Linked DNA regions of Homo sapiens: region 1 is linked to region 2. The links are contacts of gene promoters, found by promoter capture Hi-C in human tissues and cell types (Jung and others, 2019). All regions are on one chromosome and are shown on one strand. Each heading gives the region's core, a stretch centred on a gene start or on the middle of the fragment in contact. The rest is flanking DNA. Distances are from core to core; before and after follow the strand shown.

Region 1 (3,418 bases), core at 534-3,033, 1.5 Mb after region 2:
GCCAGTCATCCAACCACTTAGCACCTTCCTAATCTTTGCTTTCAGAGCTACATCACCTTGTTGGTGGTTGAGCTCAAGTTGAGCCCAGGAGTTTGAGACTGGCCTGGGCACACAGTGAGACCCCATCTCTATAAAAAACTTAAAAATTTAGCTGGGCAGGGTGACACCTGCCTGTGGTCCCAGGTACTCAGGAGGTTGAGGCGGGAGGATCGTTTGACCCCGGGAGGTTGAGGCTGTAGTGAGCCATGAATGCACCACTGCACTCAAGCCTAGGTGACACAGTGAGGCTCTGTCTCAAAAAATATAAATGAATTAATAATGAATTAATGAATGCATGCTTAAAACTTTTTTTGTTGTTTTTTTTGAGATGGAGTCTTGCTCTGTTTCACAGACTGGAGTGCACTGGTGCGATCTCTGCTCACTGCAACCTCTGCGGGACGGATTCAAGCGATTCTCCAGCCTCGGCCTCCCAAGTAGCTGGGATTACAGGCATGAGCCACCACACCCGGATAATTTTTGTATTTTTTTAGTAGAGAAGGGGTTTTACCGTGCTGGCCAGGCTGGTCTTGAACTCCTGACCTCAAGTGATCCACCTATCTCGGCCTTCCAAAGTGCTGGGATGACAGGCATGAGCCACCACACCCAGCCTTGCTTAAAACTATTAAATGACAAGCAGGCACAGTGGCTCACGCCTGTAATCCCAGCACTTTGGGAGTCCGAGGCAGGTGGATCACCTGAGGTCAGGAGTTCGAGACCAGCCTAGCCAATACGGTGAAACCCCGTCTCTACTAAAGATACAAAAATAGCCGCGCGTGGTGGCAGACGCCTGTAATCCCAGGTACTTGGGAGGCTGAGGCAGGAGTATCGCTTGAACCCGGGAGGCGGAGGTTGCAGTGAGCCGAGATCGCGCCACTGCACTCCAGCCTGGGCAACAAGAGCGAAAACTCCGTCTCCAAAAAAAAAAAAAACAAAAAACAAACACACACACACACAAAACTATTAAATGACTTGCCCATGGTTACTTAGAGGATTATAATGGAGTCAGGTGAAAAACCTTAGAGGATGAGAACTTTTTGAAGGCAGAAATTTTACCGGCAGCCCCTGTACTTCTCCCAGTGCCTGGAATTCAGTAGGTGTTCAATAAATGTGTGTTACAGGTATGAACTACATAAGGCAGAAACCCAGGTCCCTGTCACCCATTCAAAGCCGTGTCACTAAGAGTTTGCCTGTCGCCATCATTCCAGTATCCTCAGGGAGCATCAACGCTCTCCCTTCGGCCCTGAGTTTAGCGAGGGGATTGGTCTTACCCGTCGGCCTGGGCGAGGCCACGGAACATGCCCTCCCCGCCCGGGCAGTGTCTCTGACCCTGGAATATGCCATCCTCGGTGCTGAAGTGCTTCACCGTCCTGTCCGCGCAGCCCACCAGCATCTGCGGCAAAGAAGGGCAAGATGGCGAGGAGAGCGAGGCTGCTGCGCCCCAGGCCCCCAGCTCCGGCCCGACCAGGGGCCACTCACCTGGGTCTCGCCGCCGGTGCCCCAACACAGGGCGCTCACTGCCTCCTCGCGCCGCGGCTGTCCTCCGGCCGTGAAGTTCGCCGCCTGTTTTCGCTGAAGATTTACCCCTGAGAGACGAAGGCGTCAGTCACGCCAGGGGCGCGAGTGCACCCCTGCACTTCCCGACGCCCGAGCCTGCCACCCACCTTTCAAGATCCCAGTCTCGGTGCCGACCCACACATGGTTCCAGCGTGCAGCAGCAGCCGCCATGACAAAGCCTGGAGGCAGACAGTTCACACTTCCGGCGCAGCGTGTGCGTCACCAGCGGGCGTCGAGTCCGATGCAGCGCAGTGTAGTTGCTGGAAGTTTGAAGAGCCGAAACAGTAAAGCTTCCATGCTTGTTTTGCTTTACGAAAATGAAACCAGGAGGTGCTTGTTTATGTAGATCGGAAGAATACATTGATCATTTTGCACTTGGGGGTGAAAAGCACCTTTCCTGGACTGCGTGGCCGGATCAAGCCAGCCCTAGTCTGTCTCCCGGCTCCATTATGTAATATGTGTTCTGGACTGTTAGACAAGAAACAACAAACGATTTAAGAAACGATTTAAGAAACACTTTAGAAACGATTCAAATCATTAATGATGTGTGGGGCTTCGTTCTGGAATATAAGTCACGAAAGAAAGATGGGAAAAGGAAACCGACGATTTTTTTTTTCTTTTGAGAGAACTTCGCCCTTGTTGCCCAGGCTGGAGTGCAATGGCGCGATCTCCTCTCACCTCAACCTCCGCCTCCCGGGTTCAAGCGATTCTTCTGCCTCAGCCTCCCAAGTAGCTGGGATTACAGCTGGTATTACTAAACCACCGCGCCCGGCCTCGTTTACTCTTCAAGAGGCGGACAGCGAGGCGCGGTGGCTCACGCCTGTAATCCCAGCACTTTGGGAGGCCGAGGCGGGCGGATCATGAGGTCAGGAGATCGAGACCATCTTGGCTAACACGGTGAATCCCCGTCTCTACTAAACATACAAAAACAAAACTAGCCGGGCGTGGTGGCGGGCGCCTGTAGTCCCAGCTACTCCGGAGGCTGAGGCAGGAGAATGGCGTGAACCCGGGAGGAGGAGCTTGCAGTGAGCCGAGATTGCGCCACTGCACTCCAGCCTGGGCGTCAGAGACTCCGTCTCAAAAAAAAAAAACAAAAACAACTAAAAGTACTCTGTGCTATGCTACATGAGAAACGCAGAGAAAGTCATCGCTCAGTAGAAATACAGTAATAGCGCATGCGTAAATAGGAGAGGGAAGTCGCTACTTTACCTAGAGATTAACACAGAAAAGCAACAAATTACCAGTTTACAAGTAAACCCTTTATCTAACGCGAAGATTTATTTATTTTTTGAGATGGAATCTTGCTCTGTCTCTCAGGCTAGAGCGCCCGCCACCAGGCCTGATTCACTTTTCTTTTGGTTTTTTAGTGAAGACGGGATTTTTCACACCATGTTAGTCAGGCTGGAATTACCCAATCCGCCCGCCCCAACCTCCCGAAGTGCTAGGATTTCACGCTTGAAACCCCGAGCGCGACCTAGGTTTAACACATCAAACGCGAAACCAGGCCGGGCGCGGTGGCTCACGCCTGTAATCCCACCACTTTGGGAGGCCGAGGCGGGCGGATCACGAGCTCAGGAGATCGAGACCATCCTGGTTAACACGTTGTGAAACCCTGTCTCCACTAAAAATACAAAACAGGCCGGGCGCGGTGGCTCACGCCTGTATTCCCAGCACTTTGGGAGGCTGAAGCGGGCGGATCACAAGGTCAAGAGATGGAGACCACCCTGGCCAACATGGTGAAACCCCGTCTCTATTAAAAGTATAAAAATTCGCTGGGCGTGGTGGCGGGCGCCTGTAGTCCCAGCCACTCGGGAGGCTGATGCAG
Region 2 (3,266 bases), core at 242-2,741:
GTAAAGGTCCAGGTAGTAAATATTCTAGGCTTTGTAGAGCACATGGTCTGTCACAACTATGTCATCAACTCTGCCCATGCAAGAGCAGCCACATAAACATCTTAACAAATGAGCACCACGGCTGTGTTCCAGTAATATTTATTTATGGACACTGAAGTCTGAGTTTCACATAATTTTCACGTCACAAGATATTATTAACTTCTTGCGAAAAAGGATTCTCCCGGCTGAGCTAAAACAGGTCACATCCAGGGGTAAGAAATGCTAGTTCCCATCCAGCCCTTAGTCTTAGAAAAAGGCTCTACGCAGGCTGGGCGCGGTAGCTCACGCCTGTAATCCCAGCACTTTGGGAAGCCGAGGCGGGCGGATCACATGAGGTCAGGAGTTCGAGACCAGCCTGACCAACATGGAGAAACCCCGTCTCTACTAAAAATACAAAAATTAGCCGGGCGCGGTAGCGGGCGCCTGTAATCCCAGCTACTTGGGAGGCTGAGGCAGGGGAATCGCTTGAACCCGGGAGGCGGAGGTTGCAGTGAGCCGAGATCGTGCCACTGCATTCCAGCCTGGGCGACAGAGTGAGACTCTGTCTCAGAAAAAAAAAAAAGAAAGAAAAAGAAAAAGGCTCTACTCCAAACTCTTGCAGTGTTACTTTTATAATTTAGAACTACAAATAAATGAAGGGGTAGAAAATCAGTTTGTTGCTCTCCCTCCCCGATGGACTGGGGGACTTCAAGAATCTTGAGGACCAGATTTAGGATACAAGCCCTAAACCCTCATCTTACAAATCAAAAACACTGTGACACTGGGGCCCAAAACAAGAAAATGACTTAGCCAAGGTAAGTGGCCGAGCTGGTACAGGAATTCGGGTCCACTCCCTCTCAGCTCTGAGGATTCCTTATTCTCAAAGGTAGCTTCTGTTAAAGTCGGAACATGAGGAGTGAAGGGCTCAATATTCCTGCCAAGGAGGTAGGTGAACAAGTTACCCCTTAGCACCGGAATAATTATAGACCCCGACTTCAGGCTGTGCCTAGGTCCGGCTCAGGTGTCCAAAGAACCGTTCCAGGCACCCGAGGGGTGATCCCTGACTCCTCTGCTGGGTGCTCGTGCCAGCTAACAATGGGTGAAAATTGGGGTGAGGAGCTCCAGGTGCTTTCTGCGTCCTCTGAAGAGCTTTCGTGCCTTTATAACCACCGCGTTGGAAGGAAGAGCGCGGAGAAAGGTGCCCACTTTCTAAAAGAGAAAATTGAGGCCGAGCAAGGGGATCGCGACAGTGCGAAGCGAGATAGCAGCGGAACCAGCATTCGAACCCAGGTCCCTGAACTCCCAGCCCCGGGATCCTTCTCACCCCTAACCACAGTGGGACGAAGTGAGGCCGGGATCTCCGGAACCCGCCTCTCGCTACCAGGCGCCGGAGCTGCCGCTCCCGAGGTTCCTAGGAGATGCAGAAGACACTGCCCTGAATGCCTACAGCCGGCTGGCAATGCCGCCCCAGAGCAGAGCGGCGGGTGCCGCCTCGCCTTCTTATAGGCTCGCAGCACTTCCAGTCGCGCGCGAGGCCTCCTGGGAAGTGAAGTCCGGAGACCAGGGGTGGCCGGCTCCCAGCGCGCCAAGCTGCTAACCCCCTAACTCCCGTTCCTCCTCGGCGTTTCTTCTCCAAGTCCGAAGTCAGGGTCCAGGACTGCTGCGATGCATCAGCCCCGCCTCTCATCCCCCATCCAGAGGAGGCGGAAATGTTCAGGTGAACGCGAAGCCTCCCACTACGAGCCGGCCCTCAGCAAGGCCGTGCGCAGTGTGGGCGGGAGCCCTAAGTCAGCTAGCGGCGACGCTGGGAGGGCCCGGAGCAGGCCGGGCCCCGAACAGCGAAAGCTCCAACATGGCGGCCAGACTGGCCATAGAGCGGGAAGAGAAAGCCGGGGACTAGCAGGCCGCACGGCGCAGACGGGGCCCGCCTCCTCCATTTACTTCCGGAATTTAAAGCCGGCTTCCGGAAGCCGGGACGATGTCCGCATGACAACCGACGTTGGAGTTTGGAGGTGAGAGTGATTGACGAGGAGTGGGTTAAGTGACCAGAAGTCAGAATTTTTGGTGCTGTTGTTTTGGGCTTGGGTTTTATGCTTTGTTGTTGTTTGCCAAGGAAGCCTCGTTTTTAAGTGGATTGGGAAGCGTGAGGAATACTGCCCTAGGTACAAAGGGAAGGCGGCAGGTAGCGGTGGACGAATTAAAGAGCTTCATGAGCTTGTGAGTCTCCACTGCCCTAAACTGGAGGGGATCGTCGTACGTAGAGACAGGCATGGGCGTTTCTGCATAACGGATCCTCAAAACAGCCCTGGATGGTGGCCTATGAGTAGTGGTTAAGAGCACGGGTTTGGCGTCACAGTTATGAAGCCGGGTTCTGCTGACTTGAGACCTGGAGGAATGCCTTGAGCTCTGACTTCTGTGTCCTTTCCTGTAGAATAGGAATAATTCCCACCTTGCAGACTTGTAGGGAGGATTAAAGGAAACGATCTTGGTTGACAAGTTTATCGTGGTGTGAGTACCTAGGTAGTAGCTATCAGTGTTATTTAATGCGGCCGGGCGCAGTGGCTCACGCCTGTAATCCCAGCACTTTGGGAGGCCGAGGCGGGAGGATCACGAGGTCAGGAGATCGAGACCATCCTGGCTAACATGGTGAAACCCCGTCTCTACTAAAAATACAAAAAATTAGCCAGGCGTGGTGGCACGCACCTGTAGTCCCAGCTACTTGGGAGGCTGAGGCAGGAGAATCGCTTGAACCCGAGAGGCGGAGGTTGCAGTGAGCCAAGATCATGCCACTGCACTCCAGCCTGGCGACAGAGCGAGACACTCTCTCTCTCTCTAAAATTTAATGAATGAGGAAACCGCGAACATATGTCCAATAAGGTGGGACTTCACCAGCTGAGGTGGAGGAGGTGCCTTAACCTTCCGGAGCCTCTGTGTAAAATGGGGATAATATACATTGTAATGGCTACTTCTCAAGATGGTTGTAGGATTACGTAAGGTTAGAAATATGAAAAGAGCTTATAAATTGCAAAACATTTTACCGATGCTAATTTAATCGCTAACACTCCAGAGCATTTTGAAATTTCTTTATAGATTTGGCACAGCAGCGGGTCATAGGACACCCCCAGAGCAACTTGTGGGTCTTGGAATAGATGAAAAGAAACAACTGCCACTGTGTTGCAACCATAACCCTAAAGATAAAGCTTTCCAGGAGACCCCTGTTTCCTCTCTGCTTTTTCTGCCTAGGGCAC

Evidence for each region. Contacts are between HindIII fragments. The study calls those that stand out against the background at their distance.
Region 1: a contact is called between the fragment with the promoter of WDR74 here and the fragment with the promoter of CYB561A3 in region 2, in 1 of the 25 tissues and cell types used here (stomach).

What each region holds. Positions count from the first base shown.
Region 1 is chr11:62,837,807-62,841,224 of GRCh38, forward strand. WDR74 (WD repeat domain 74) reads right to left here and starts at 1,784. Exons shown (of 11, transcript NM_001369450.1): 1 at 1,701-1,784; 2 at 1,516-1,622; 3 at 1,308-1,429. The coding sequence starts at 1,764. RefSeq lists enhancers at 1,208-1,337, 1,448-1,567, 1,628-1,967, 2,038-2,177, 2,808-2,977 and 1 more and a silencer at 3,108-3,157. The HindIII fragment of the contact is 7,487 bases long and covers 1-3,418 here.
Region 2 is chr11:61,360,391-61,363,656 of GRCh38, forward strand. CYB561A3 (cytochrome b561 family member A3) reads right to left here and starts at 1,492. Exons shown (of 7, transcript NM_153611.6): 1 at 1,343-1,492. TMEM138 (transmembrane protein 138) reads left to right here and starts at 1,984. Exons shown (of 5, transcript NM_016464.5): 1 at 1,984-2,030. RefSeq lists enhancers at 1,043-1,262, 1,381-2,102, 1,513-2,002. The HindIII fragment of the contact is 8,596 bases long and covers 1-3,266 here.